Regions from separate parts of the Homo sapiens genome. Here all the other regions are linked to region 1. Evidence: promoter capture Hi-C in human tissues and cell types (Jung and others, 2019). All regions are on one chromosome and are shown on one strand. The core of a region is centred on a gene start or on the middle of the fragment in contact, and the rest is flanking DNA. Distances in the headings are between cores, read along the strand shown. Region 1 holds the start of KIF2B (kinesin family member 2B). Region 2 has its middle 62 kb from the start of KIF2B. Region 3 has its middle 56 kb from the start of KIF2B.

What was found. The method cuts DNA at HindIII sites, captures the fragments that hold promoters and counts their contacts. A contact is called where the count stands out against the background at its distance.
Region 2: a fragment that was not itself captured here is called in contact with the fragment with the promoter of KIF2B in region 1 in 1 of the 25 tissues and cell types used here (spleen).
Region 3: a contact is called between a fragment that was not itself captured here and the fragment with the promoter of KIF2B in region 1, in 2 of the 25 tissues and cell types used here (dorsolateral prefrontal cortex and heart right ventricle).

What each region holds. Positions count from the first base shown.
Region 1 is chr17:53,820,657-53,825,727 of GRCh38, forward strand. It overlaps KIF2B (kinesin family member 2B), which reads left to right and starts at 2,271. Exons shown (of 1, transcript NM_032559.5): 1 at 2,271-4,537. The coding sequence starts at 2,378. The coding sequence ends at 4,399. LOC124904030 (a long non-coding RNA gene) reads right to left here and starts at 2,270. Exons shown (of 2, transcript XR_007065851.1): 1 at 2,068-2,270. The HindIII fragment of the contact is 8,156 bases long and covers 1-5,071 here.
Region 2 is chr17:53,882,365-53,887,435 of GRCh38, forward strand. No RefSeq gene overlaps it. Among named protein-coding and RNA genes, the nearest start is that of KIF2B, 62 kb to the left of the region's middle. The HindIII fragment of the contact is 3,087 bases long and covers 749-3,835 here.
Region 3 is chr17:53,764,273-53,769,343 of GRCh38, forward strand. No RefSeq gene overlaps it. Among named protein-coding and RNA genes, the nearest start is that of KIF2B, 56 kb to the right of the region's middle. The HindIII fragment of the contact is 5,389 bases long and covers 317-5,071 here.

The DNA of each region.
Region 1 (5,071 bases), core at 1,021-3,520:
GAACACAAAGATCTGTGTCAGGATTTTAAAGATGAGTAAATGTTGAAGTTACTAAAAGCAATTAAAAATAACAAAGACCTGCCATTTTCAGTAAGAAAATAACAGAATCAGTTTTGGATTTGTTAACTTTTTAGTTCCTGCAGGTGACTACAAGTTTAGGACTCATAATTCTGGTTATCAACAATCTATCTAGCCAGCTTTATATAAAATTAAACTGTAGGAACAAATGCAATATACTAGGGAAACTATATAAAAGAGAAAAGAACTGAAAAAAAGTCCTGAAATTGCTATGAAAACCTGTATGAACATGTTGGAGAGAAAGAGGGAGTAAAAGGAAACTTTTCTCTCTGATTTTGGCACTATTATCATGGATCTGCTCATCCATTGTCTGTCTAAAACATTACTAGCTAAGATGAAAACCCTATGGCTAGCCTGGAGGGTCTAGAGTTTTCATAATTTTGAGAGAGACCCAGCTTTTTCAAAGGTAACGGTTAAAAAAACAAAGCAAAACAAACTATTATGTGGGCTCAGTGGCTCAAGCCTATATTTCTATCACTTTGGGAGGGTGAGAAGGGAGACTCCCTTGAGGTCAGGAGTTTGAGACCAGTCTCTGTGCAACACAGCGAGACCTCATCCCTAGCAAAAAAAAAAAAAAGAAAAAAAAAAAAAAGAAAGAAACAAAGAAAGAAAATAGCAAAGCATCCTGACACATGCCTGTAATTCCAGCTACTCAGGAAGCTGAGATGGTAGGATGGCTTTAACCTAGGAGTATGAGGTGGCAGTGAGCTATGATCAGGCCACTGTACTCCAACTTGAATGACAGAGTGCTAATGACAAATACAGTGTATTAAGAATATCTACATCATGGCCTTGAAACCAAGAAAGAACAACTGATTTAAAGCACAACTTTAAGTATTGATAATTTGGGGAAATAAAACATGATATTTTTTAGAAGACAATTGCCTAAAGCCCTTTCTCCTCTCCCTCCACCTGCATACAACCTCCTCTTGAAATGAGCACTGCTTACTTATCTAATTTATCCAGTATCCTCCTTCCACCTTCTTTTCAAAATCTAAGCTTTACTAGACTGACTGAACAGAAAAGTTAGTTTATAGTAGAATTTATTTCTATAGAGGCCCTTATTCCTAGGGAAGGTTGTAACTTGCTACTTCATGTTACTTTGGAGCTATAATTATGATAAAATTCAACAGTCCAAAAGACAACATGCACGGGTGTTGCTAGTGAGCTGAACGTAAGGCATCACCCTTACTCTGAGCTTGGCCTGTCTAAAAGTCAATGTCATTTATTTTATAAGCTAATTCTTATGCATGAAAATATTGCAATCTTGGCAAAATATATTTTTGCATCCGATGGTCTTAGCTGCCTTCCAGCCTTGCTTAACAACTTCTAAAGGACACACACAAGTACTGCAGGGGTGGGGGGAGTATAAGATTAATTATCTCTTTCCACACAATGCCTTTTCTTTCTCTCCCAATTATGGATAATGAGGCCAGAAGTGTAATTACTGAAGGAGTTTGGAAAGGTAATTACTGAACTAATCTCAAAAATGGTGGTGACCACAGCACAACAAAACTCACTTTATAGCTGTCAGAGCCACTTGGAATGTGATACACATGTTGTGTTTGCAAACCCAGGTGCTGTACGAAAGGTAGTTTCATATTAGCAAATTACCACAACGACCTGCTACATTCTACTCATTTTGATTTTGTAATGAGAAAGCCGATTAAACTGTAATAACTTTAAGTTGTGACTCTTAAACAAGTTACACGTTTTGAAGGAGGTGAAAAAACAAAGATGGCGGGTTTGAGGAGCCTTTCTGGGATCCTGTTGAATATCGAGTCCTGAGATTTGCAAATAGCTCTACCTTCATCTATTCCCACTGATCACTGGAGAGTTAAAGTTTAAGGAAACTTCATAGCAATTCTCAAATTAAAGCACTGAGCTTTGAGACTGCCAGCCAAGGCCTCCTTTTATGCTTAGGCATAAATGTACACGGGACATATAAATTAAATTTCAACGCCATGGTTCCCGTTGCTTCTCTGTTACCTGTTCTTTCTCGCCATGATCCGGAGAGCACGCCACATCCTCCTCCAACCCCTTCACCCTCACTGGCAGAGAACAATCTCTCCATCCCTTTGTGCTCCCGTACCATTCACTCCTAAGCCCTAGGTTCTGCCGCCTCATCTCATCCCTTTGTGACGTAGTGGCCCCAGTCCGGGCCCCGGCGCGCTAGGCTCACAAAGGCAGGCACAGACTGCAACCCTGCTCAGTGCTCCGGGCGCTTCAGGCTGGCTTGGGTCCTGCTGCTCCAACCCCAAGGGCCCTGGAGCGCTCCCTGATACCTCCATCACTCACCATGGCCAGCCAGTTCTGCCTCCCTGAATCCCCATGTCTCTCGCCCCTGAAACCCTTGAAGCCACATTTCGGAGACATCCAAGAGGGCATCTACGTGGCGATCCAGCGCAGTGACAAGCGGATCCACCTCGCTGTGGTCACGGAGATCAACAGAGAAAACTATTGGGTCACGGTAGAGTGGGTGGAGAAAGCAGTCAAAAAAGGCAAGAAGATTGACCTGGAGACCATACTCCTGCTGAATCCAGCTCTGGACTCTGCTGAACACCCCATGCCGCCCCCGCCCTTATCCCCCTTGGCTCTGGCGCCCTCTTCGGCCATCAGGGACCAGCGTACCGCCACGAAATGGGTTGCGATGATCCCCCAGAAAAACCAAACAGCCTCAGGGGACAGCCTGGATGTGAGGGTCCCCAGCAAACCTTGTCTGATGAAGCAGAAAAAGTCTCCCTGCCTCTGGGAAATCCAGAAACTGCAGGAGCAGCGGGAAAAGCGCAGGCGGCTGCAGCAGGAGATCCGAGCTAGACGCGCCCTCGATGTCAATACCAGAAACCCCAACTACGAAATCATGCACATGATCGAAGAGTATCGCAGGCACCTGGACAGCAGCAAGATCTCAGTCCTGGAGCCCCCGCAAGAACATCGCATCTGCGTCTGCGTGAGGAAGCGGCCTCTCAACCAGCGAGAGACAACCTTAAAGGACCTGGATATCATCACCGTCCCCTCGGACAATGTGGTTATGGTGCATGAGTCCAAGCAAAAGGTGGACCTCACTCGCTACCTGCAGAACCAGACCTTCTGCTTCGACCATGCCTTCGATGACAAAGCCTCCAACGAGTTGGTGTACCAGTTCACCGCCCAGCCACTGGTGGAGTCCATCTTCCGCAAGGGCATGGCCACCTGCTTTGCCTATGGGCAGACGGGAAGTGGGAAGACGTACACCATGGGTGGAGACTTTTCAGGAACGGCCCAAGATTGTTCTAAGGGCATTTATGCTCTGGTGGCACAGGATGTCTTTCTCCTGCTCAGAAACTCCACATATGAGAAGCTGGACCTCAAAGTCTATGGGACATTTTTTGAGATTTATGGGGGCAAGGTGTATGATTTGTTGAACTGGAAGAAGAAGCTGCAAGTCCTTGAGGATGGCAATCAGCAAATCCAAGTGGTCGGGCTGCAGGAGAAAGAGGTGTGTTGTGTGGAGGAAGTGCTGAACCTGGTGGAAATAGGGAATAGCTGTCGGACTTCCAGGCAAACACCTGTCAACGCTCACTCATCCAGGAGCCATGCAGTGTTCCAGATCATCCTGAAGTCAGGACGGATAATGCATGGCAAGTTTTCCCTCGTTGATTTAGCTGGGAATGAAAGAGGAGCAGATACAACCAAGGCCAGCCGGAAAAGGCAGCTGGAAGGGGCAGAGATTAACAAGAGTCTTCTAGCCCTCAAAGAATGTATTCTGGCTTTGGGTCAGAACAAGCCTCACACCCCATTCAGAGCCAGCAAACTCACACTGGTGCTCCGGGACTCCTTTATAGGCCAGAACTCCTCCACTTGCATGATTGCTACCATCTCTCCGGGGATGACCTCTTGTGAAAACACTCTCAACACTTTAAGATATGCAAACAGAGTAAAAAAATTAAATGTAGATGTAAGGCCCTACCATCGTGGCCACTATCCGATTGGACATGAGGCACCAAGGATGTTAAAAAGTCACATCGGAAATTCAGAAATGTCCCTTCAGAGGGATGAATTTATTAAAATACCTTATGTACAGAGTGAGGAGCAGAAAGAGATTGAAGAGGTTGAAACATTACCCACTCTGTTAGGGAAGGATACCACAATTTCAGGGAAGGGATCTAGCCAATGGCTGGAAAACATCCAGGAGAGAGCTGGTGGAGTACACCATGATATTGATTTTTGCATTGCCCGGTCTTTGTCCATTTTGGAGCAGAAAATTGATGCTCTGACCGAGATCCAAAAGAAACTGAAATTATTACTAGCTGACCTCCACGTGAAGAGCAAGGTAGAGTGAAGCCAATGGCGAGAGATCAGGTCCGAAATGCTGCATTGCTGCAGTTTCCACCACTCTTATACAGGAAAACTGTCCAAATTATCTAAAGATCCTCCTGAGAAGCTTAAAACATCTTAAAATACACTGATGGGAAACATGCTCTTTCTTCTGCCTCTGTATTTCTGTAGTTTGTTTTCATCCTGCTGAACTATAGTTTTCAACAGGGAATGGTTCCTCCCCACCCCCTACCAGGACATTTGGCGATGTCTGGAAACATTTTTGATTGTCACAACTGGGGGTGATGAGGATACTGGCATACAGTAGTTTGAGGACCAGAAATGCTGCTAAGCATTCTAAAGTGTACAGCAGCAGTCCCCAACCTTTTTGACACCACAGACCGGTTTTGTGGAAGGGAGTTGTTCCGTGGGTGGGGTTGGGGATGAAACTGTTCCACTTCAGATCATCAGGCATTAGTCTCCTAAGGAGCATGCAACAACCTATATCCCTCACATGCACAGTTCACAATAGGGTTCATGCTCCTGTAAGAATCTAATGCTCCTGCTGATCTGACAAGAGGGGGAGCTCAGGCGGTAATGCCCGCTCACTGCCAGCTTGCCTTCTGTTGTGTAGTGTGATTCCCAAAAGACCACAGACCTACCGGTCTGCAGCCCAGGGGTTGGGGACCCTGAAGTG
Region 2 (5,071 bases), core at 1,042-3,541, 62 kb after region 1:
TGGATGGTGAAATAATCTGTACACCAATCCCCTATGACACACAGTTTACCTATATAACAAACATGCACATGTATGCCTGAACCTAAAAGTTAAAATGTATACTGTTAGAGAAATTCGGCAAATGTTGTTAGAAGTATTGAAAGTAAAAAAGTCGGAAAGTCAAAAGTGCACAGAAATGCAATAAAAACCGTAATTCTAACATAAAGAGAGTTCTGATAATAACAGTTTATATGACATAGTTTACATGTATTGATTTTTTGGCTCATGGTTAAAGGTACAAGTTTCAGGCGAATCACTCATCATAAAGTGTTTGATTGCTTCAAGATTTTCAGTAATTTTACAAGGGTGGTGACTTTGATGCTCTTCCTTAGGCATATATGACAATGTCTGGAGACATTTCAGTTTGGAATCAAATACATAGGAACTAGAGATTCTGCTAAACATCCTACAATGCTCAGAACAACCCCCCACCCAAATTAAGAATTATCCAGCTCAAAATATTAATAGCGTAAGGTCATAAAACCCTGTGCTGGACTTATCTGATCTCAACATGGATGAATATTTTGACAAAGTGATCCATGTTTTTGTGTGAATTTAAAGGTGTAGATTAAATACTTACTCAAGGACTACAGACTCTGGCATCAGGCCATCCTACCCGTGGGCCCAGGCCCAAAGCCCACATGTTAAAGATCCCTACTAGCTAGTCCATCGAAAATATCTGGCCAGGATGACAGGTGAAGGGCTTTCCATGTCAAAGTCAGTCTGTAAAGACTAGAAGAGTTGAGTATTTCTTCAAATGCAGAGGCATGAATGCAAGTTTACAATAATCACGAAGAACCAGGGAAACATGACACCAGCAAAGGAAAAAAATAAAGCTCAAATAAACCATTCTAAGGAAATGGAGATGTAACCATTGCCCAGTATTGTGTCTCAAGAAACAAGAAATAAAGGACAGCCTTAACTTAGGGGATGGAAGGAAATAATAAATATTAGAGAAGGAATAAACAAAATAGAGATTTTGTTAAATATTAAAAAATAAATTTTAGGGTTTGTTTTGTGAAAAGATAATTAAAATTTAAAAACTCTTATCTACACTAACTTAAAAAAGAAGAGAGAAGATAAAATCAGAAATGGAGAAGGCAATGTTACAATCAATGCCACAATTTTTTAAGAAAGAGATTATAAGGGACTATTATGAACAATCATGCACCAACAGGGCAACCTAGAAGAAATGAATACATTCTTAGAAACATACACTCTGCCAAGACTGAGTCAAGTAGAAATCAAAAGCCTGAACATATTAATAACAAATTAGATTGACTCAGTAATCAAAAAAGAAAAACACGTGAATTAATGACTTCATAGATAAATTGTCCCAAGCATTTAAAAACATATTACAAATCCTTCTTAAACTCTTCAGAAAAAATAGAAGAGGGAACAGTTCTGAAATCTTTTTATAAGGCCAGCATCACCTTGACACTAACAGACAGAAACCACAAGAAAAAACAACTAAAGGTCAATATCCCTGATGAATCTGATTGCAAAAATTTTCATCAAAATATTAGTAAACAAAGTTCAACAGCATACTAAAAGGATCATACGCCATGACCAAGTGGGATTTACCCCAGTAAGCAGGGATAGTTCGACATATACAAATCAAATATTATCATACACTCCAGAAACAGAATGAAGAATAAAAAATCACAAGATCTTTTTTGTAGATGAAGAAAAGTCATTTGACAAATTTCAACACCCTTTCATAATAAAAACTCTAAACAAGTTAGGTATAGAAATAACTTAGCACAATCAAAGCCAAAGAGGCATACCTGTAAGAAATTTCAGGTGCAGTTCCAGCCCACTGCAATAAAGGAAACATCACAATAAAGTGAGTCACGCCGGTTTTGTCTATTTTTCAGTTCATGTAAAAGTTATGTTTACACAATATTATAGCCTATTACATGTGCAATAGCATTATGTCTAAAAAAGTGCATAGCTTAATTAAAAAATACTTTCTTGCCAACAAATGCTAATGATCATCTGAGCCTTCAGTGAGCTGCAATCTTTTTCCTGGTAGAGGATTTTGCCTTCTTGTTGATGGCTAATGACTGGTCAGGGTTGTGATAGCTGAAGGTAGAGATGGATGCAGAAATTTCTTAAAATGAGACGACAATAAAGTTTGCCCCATAAATTGGCCCTTCCTTTCACTAAAGATTTCTCTGTAATATGCAATGTGTTTGAAAGCATTTTACCCAGAATAGAGGTTCTTTCAAAATTGAAGTCAGTCCTCTTAAGCCTTGTCCTTGCTTCATCAATTAAGTTTACATAATATTCTAAATGTTTTCTTGTCATCTCAGCATTGTTCATAATATCTTGACCAGGAGTATATTCCATCTCAAGAAACAACTTTCTTTGCTTATTCATAAGAGGCAATTTCTCATCTGTTTAACTTTTATTATGAGATTGTCACATTCATTCACATTTTCAGGCTCCACTTCTAATTCTTATTTCTCTTGCAATTTCCACCATATCTGCAGTTATTTCCTTTACTGAAGTCTTGAACCTATTAAAATTGTCTATGAGGATTAGAATTAACTTCTTCCAGAGTCCCTTAGATGTTGATATTTTGGCTTACTTTCAAAAAGCATGAAGATTCTTAATGGTATCTAGAATGTAGAATCATTTCTAGAAGCTTTTCAATTTAGTTTGCTCAGATACATCAGATACATCACTATCTATAGCAGCTATAGAATTATAAAATGTATTTCTCAAGTAATAAGACTTGAAGGTGAAAATTACTCCTTGATCTATGAGCTGAAGAATGGAGGTTGTGATAGCAGGCATGAAAAGAACATTAATTTCTTTGTACATATCTATCATAGCTCTTGGGTGACCAGTTGTATTGACAATGAGCAGCAATATTTTGAAAAGAATCTTTTTTCTGAGCTGTAGGTCTCAACTGTAGGCTTAAAATATTCAGTAAACCACACAGTAAACAGGCTTTGTTTTTCCATTTATGTAGCCTAGGAAGAGTAGATTTTTCACAATTCTTAAGAGCTCTAGGATTTTTAGAATGTTAAATGATCATTGGCTTCAACTTAAAGTCACCAGCTGTATTAGCCTTTAACAAGGTAGTCTTTGTTCTTTGAAGTTTTCAAATCAAGACATGACTTCTTTTTAGTTATGAAAATCCTAGATAGCATTTTCTTCCAATATGAGGCCGTTTCATCTACATTCAAAATAGTTGTTTGGTATAGCAACCTTCATCAATAATCTTGGCTAGATCATCTGGATAACTTGCTGTAGTTTCTCCATCAGCACTTACTGCTTTTCTTTTTACTTTCATGTTATCATGATGGCTCCTTTCCCTTAAACCCCATGAACCAACTTCTGCTATCTTCATTTTTTTTTCCTGCAGATTCCTTACCTCTCTTCACCTTCATATAAGTGAAGAGAGTTAGAGCCTTACTCTTGAATAGTCTTTGGCTTAAGGGAAGGTTGTGGCTGGTTTAGTCTTCTATCCTGACTACTCAAGCTTTAGCCATATCAGCAATAAACCCTGTGTTAGGCCATTCTTATGTTGGTATAAAAATATCTGACACTGGGTAATTTATAAAGAAAAGATGTTTAATTTGCTCATGGTTCTTTTGGCTTTACAGGAAACATGATGCTGGCATCTTCTTGGCTTCTGGGGAGACCTCAAGAAACTTACAATCATGACAGGAGTTGAAGTGGGAGCAGGCATGTCACATGACCAGAACAGGAGAAAAAGAGAGAGTCAGAAGAGGGGGGAGGTGCAAAATACTTTTAAATAACCCAAACTCATAAGAACTCACTCACTCATCACCTAGGGGAGAGCACCAAGCCACTCATGAGGAATACACCCCTCTGATGCAAATACCTCCTGCCAGGTCCTAACCCACAACACTGGGGACCACACCTCCATATGAGATTTGGTGGAAACACAGATCCAAATCATATTAAATCTATTTCACTTTCTTATCATTTGTGTGTTTACTGGAGTAGCACTTCTAATTTCCTTCAAGAACTTTTCCCTTACATTCACAAATTGGCTAATCATTTGGTGTAAGAGGCCTAGATTTCATCATATCTTGGCTTTTGATATGGCTTTCTCACTAAGCTTACTCATTTCTAGCTTTTGATTCAAAGTGAGGGACATGTGACTCTTCCTTTCACTTGAGCGCTTAGAGGCCATTGTGGGATTATTTGACCTAATTTGAACATTGCTTTGTCTCAGGGAATAATAGTGAGACCTAAAGAGAGGGAGAGAGATGGAAATTGCTGGTCAGAGGAGCAGTCATAACACTCATAACATTTATGGATTAAGTTCACTGTTTTATATGGGCCTGGTTCATGGCATCCCAAAGTAATTACAATAGTAATATCAAAAATCATTAATCATAGACCTCCGTAACAGATATAATAATATTAGAAAAGTCAAAAATATTGTGATAATTATCAAAATATGACACAGAGACTCGAAGTGAGCACATCACATTAGAAAATGGTACTAATGAATTTGCTCAATACAGCATTGACACAAACCTTCAATTTGTAAAAAAAAACACAATATCTTTGAATAAAATGAAGTAGCATAAAATGAAGTATTCTTGCATATAAAAAGCCCACAGCTAACATTACCTCAGTGGTGAAAAACTAAAAGCTTTTCTTCTAAGACCTAGAATGAAGAAAAAATGTCCACTCTCACCATTTCTATTCAACCTAGTATTGGAAATCCTATACAGAGCAATTAGGCAAGAAAATTTTAAAAATGCAATCAAATCAGAAAAGAAAATATGAATTACCTTTCTTTGTAGATGATGTGATTTTTATATAGAAAATCCTAAATACTACACACAGACACACACACACACACACACACACACACACACACACACACACAAAACCTCTTAGAACTAATGAACTCAGCAAAGTTGGAAAATAAAAATCAAATATAAAAATTAGTTATATTTCTAGGTACTATGAACTATCTGAAAAGGAAATTAAGAAAACTATCACCTTTACAACTTAACCAAGGATGTGAGATTGATGC
Region 3 (5,071 bases), core at 1,761-4,260, 56 kb before region 1:
AAATGGCTGAGGACTTGCATAGACATTTCTCCAAATATGACACATAATTGGGAAGCAGATATATGAAAAAATGGTTGACTTCACTATTCATCAGGGAACTGAAAATCAAAACGCATTATCACTTTATATTTGTTAGGATAGCTATTATAAAAAAAGATAAGTATAGGTGACAATGTGAAGAAATCATAACTCTTGTACACTGCTGGTAGAAATGCAAAATGATGACTCTGCTATGGAAAGCAATATAAGGATTCCTCAAAAAATTAAAAATAAAACTATCATATAACCCACGATCCCACCTTTGGGCATTTATCCAAAAAAAATGAAATCACATTAACCTTGTTTTCACCACTCATTCTTACCATAGTCCCTCCTGCAATGGGACCTGTGCACATTATATGTTCCTACCGGTAATGAGATTTTTCTCTCATATTAACGAAGTAAATTCCTCTTATTCTTTTGGTCTCAGCGCCACCATTACTTCTTTTGGAGGCTCTGTGAAATGTAGTGTGCCAAGAGAGGTCTCTGTAACCAGAAACACTGTGGAAATGATAAAGTAATTCATGGATTTATTAGTTAATAAAGCAAATGTGGACCAGCTGCATAACTTCTCAAAGCATCCGCTTCCTTGTCTATAAGACTAGAATAATACCTACTTTATAGGATTGCTTTGAAAGTTATAAATGGTCATTGCCTAGCAGAGTTCTAGCATATGTCATGGCTCAATAAATGCAGCACACATTATTTTTTTTAATGATGACACTACTCTTGACAACATAATTCAGAACAAAACTGCTGTTAAAATTGTGTTCTATTGTGTTTGTGGGGATAGAACCTACACTACTCTAACAAGAACCTGCCAAATAAATTGCTTCATCAAGATGAAAGTCAATTTCATTCTTAAATCTAACCAGCTTGGAAGGCATCGCAGGGTGGTTAGGACAATTTATAGTGTTGAAGATCCAGAATGCTTGCTCAGTAATCTTTGGGGTGTTACCCTTGTCTGCACAAAGATGACCACACCCACAGGAACACCTCCCGCTTATGGTCATAAATCAAAAAGTTGCACATACTGCTTTCACTAACATTTCCCTGGCCCAAACTTAAACTCAGTCATTTGGTCATGACTACCAGCAAGGAAGAGTGGGGCATGTCTTTACCTGGGCAGTCATGAGCCAACAGAATAATTCTATTACTATAGGGAAAAACTGGAGAAGAAATATTGAGAAAACAGATAGTAGTTTCCTTCACAGCTTCTGAATTTAAAGGCTTTAAGGTAAAATAATGTCTTACCAAAATGTAAAAAAAAAAAAAAAAAAAAAAAAAAAAAATTAGGGTTGAGTTTAAGAAGCAAGACAGCAAGACAGAGGCTAACAAAACATTATTTTTTTAAGTTAAGTCCTCATATACCATAATTTTGCCAGGAAAATGAAAGACAATAGAAACAGAATCACATTAAGCTTATGAATGAAAGGACTCCAAGGTTCAGGATACTAGTCTTATTCCCACTGGGGCACCTGAGAGAAATTTAAGCTGTAGGCTATAAGAGATGAGTCACAGTAGATGGCGTAATAAGCAATATTGAGAAAAAAAATGCAAGCAAAAGAAATAGAGACTTTTTTAGGAGGAAGATTGTAATTTTAAATAGAGTGGTCTTGAAAGGTCTCACTGAGAAGAGGACATGTGAGTAAATACCTAAAGAAAGTTAAGGAGCATGAACCATGGATATACAAGAGAAGACTATTTCAGGATAAAAGCAGCAAGTGCAGATGCCTTGGTCTAGGAGTGTGCCTGACCTTGTTGAGAAACTGCAAGGAGACCTGTGTGGCCAGAGAAGTGAGTGAGGAAAGAATACAACGAGATGACCCCAAATGCCATCAGAGAATAGAAGGATCAGGGGTGGGGGAGAGCCAGAGTGTAAATGACCTCCTAGGCCATCCTTGGGACTTTGGCATTTACTCTTTGAGATATGGGCACCCTTAGAAGCTTTTGAGCAAAAGAGTGACATGACTGAATTTTTATTTTAACAGAGTAATAATACCACTATTAATAGAGCCTCAATTTATTGAACGTTCTATTCTTGGCACTATAACAAGTTCTTTATTTACATCACCTCACTTCATTCTCACAGCACTGCAAAATCATAATTTATACCCCCATTTTACCAGATAAAGAAACTGAGTCTTGCAATGGTTGAATAAATTAATCAGATTAATAAATGACATTCTTGGGATTTTTGATCTTAAGTATATCTGCCTGCAATGTCCTTACTGTTATTTATACTGTTTTATTTCTATCGGTATTGTGATAGCTCACTTGAAAGGTTTATATGTTATTGTCTCACCATAAAATTGTTTCTCATTATATTCTGTCCACTAATATCCTAAATAGATGTGATAAAGAGGTATTCTGCTGTGTCATTATGAAGAGTAGTGTTACTTATGATAGCAATTATTGCTCATTAGCATTTGATAAAAACGAGCTCTGTGCCACTGCACTCCTAATCTAAATGGAGCATCATAAATAATAAACCCTCACAATTAGAGTAGAGCTTCTGAACTCATCTCCTTTTTAATCTCAATAACGAGGCATTTAAATTTATAATTAATTTCCATAGTTTTATGAGCTTTTCTCAACTCTCTTCTCTCCCTCCCCTCCAAATCTTACTCTTTTTTTTTTTTTGAAGCTTCCCTCCACAGAAGTTGACTTTTCTGATTTTCATCTGTCCCCGCTTGTATGGCCCCCACACAAGTCAGGCACAGCAGTCAGTGTACATGGGAGTGCCAGTCACCAGTGAATATTCAGAGTGATCCTATTCTCTTTACCATCACCACCACTCTCCTAGCTGAAGATCCACCATTAACTTCTGTGGGGCTCAAAACAAGAGTACCAATGGAGGCCCACATACCTTACATCTATCAGATTGGTGCAAAAGAAATTGCAGTTTTAGACCATGAACTAAGCTCAAACACATCTTTATGAATCAAAATAAGAACAATTAAAATCAACACACTTTTGCCAATGAGTAATGAATTTGTTTATTTCCATAGTGTGAAAATCTGTGCTTTGGGATTCAAGCAACTCTTGGAAAGCATTTTCTACATCCTGATGGTCGTGGAAGTGTTTTCCCTGCAAAACGTTGTCGAGATGCTTGAAGAAGTGGTAGTTAGTTGGCGAGAGGTCAGGTGAACATAGCAGATGAGGCAAAACTCCATCGCCCAATTCATTCAACTTTTGAAGCGTTAGTTGTGTGACGTGCAGTCGGGCGTTGTGGAGAAGAATTGGGCCATTTCTGTAGACCAATGCCATCTGCAAGCATTGCAGTTTTTGGTGCATCTCATGGATTTGCTGAGCATATTTCTCAGATGTAATGGTTTTGCCAGGATTCAGAGAGCTGTAGTGGATCAGACCAGCAGCAGACCACCAAAGAATGACCATGACCTTTTTGGTGCAAGTTTGGCTTTGGGAAGTGTTTTGGAGCTTCTTCCCAGCTCAACCACTGAGCTGGTCATTGCTGGTTGTCATAAAAAATCCACTTTTCATTTCATATCACAATCCAATCAAGAAATGGTTCATTGTTGCATAGAATAAGAAAATACAATACTTCAAAATGGCAATTTTTAAAAATTTTCACTCAGCTCAAAAGGCACCCATTTATTAAGCTTTTTCACCTCTCCAATTTGTTTCAAATGCCAAATGACCATAGAATGGTTGATGTTGAGTTCTTTGGCAACTTCTCATGTAGTTGTAAGAGGGTCAGCTTATATGATTGCTCTCAATTGTTTGTTGTCAACTTCCGATGGCTGGCCACTATGCTGCTCATCTTCAAGGCTCTTGTCTCCTTTACAAAACTTTTTGAACCACCACTGCACTGTACGTTCATTAGCAGTTCCTGGGCCAAATGCATTGTTGATGTTGCAAAGTTGTCTCTGCTGCTTTACGACCCATTTTGAACTCGAAAAAGAAAATTGCGGCTGGGCATGGTGGCTCACGCCTGTAATCCCAGCACTTTGGGAGGCCGAGGCGGGTGGATCACGAGGTCAGGAGATCAAGACCATCCTGGCCAACATGGTGAAACCCCGTCTCTATTAAAAATACAAAAATTAGCTGGTCGTGGTGGCACACACCTGTAATCCCAGCTACTCGGGAGGCTGAGGCAGAAGAATTTCTACAACCAGGGAATCAGGGATTGCAGTGAGCCAAGATTGAGTCACTGCACTCCAGCTTGGCAACAGAGCTAGACTCCATCTCAAAAAAAAAAAAAAAAATTGCTCGAATTTGCTTTTTGTCCAACATCATTTCAATAGTCTAAAATAAACATAAACAGCAAGTAGTGTCGTTAGCAAAAAACCATAAATCAAGAAATGCCAATTAAAATGATGGGCATAACTACATTTATTTAAGAATGTATTTCAATATCAAACAGCAAACACCAACAATGCAAAAACTGCAATTACTTTTGCACCAACAAATGTTACAGATCATGCAAACAAATTGTTAAGTAAAATATATTAAATATGTCCACCTTAACGATTGTAAGAATTTACCTTCAGTCCTTTAAAATTTTTTTCTGGGCCCATCTTTTGTTTGCATTTGAGTGTTTTATTTATTTTAATCTTGATCTCAGACTATATACCTTCTCAGTGTAAAATAAGAAATTAAAAAAATAAAATGGAATTATATTCAAAGCATACTTATTTTATTATATATTTTATTAAAATATGACTTAAGGGCCACAAAAATGCCCTAATAATGGAATAGTATGGAGAAATGAGGATCCACTATGTTATAGAGGTTTTAAAAATAAGTAAATGCACCAATAAATAAAATGTAAGTTAAAATAAATGAAGAAAATCCTAAGGTATTTTCATAAATTTTATTTTCTTTTCTTTTTTTTTGAGATGGAGTCTTGCTCTGTCACACAGGCTGCAGTGCAGTGGCTGGATCTCAGCCCACTGCAACCTCTGCTTCCCGGGTTCACGCCGTTCTCCTGCCTCAGCCTCCTGAGTAGCTAGGACTACAGGCGCCCGCCACCACACCTGACTAATTTTTTTGTATTTTTAGTAGAGAC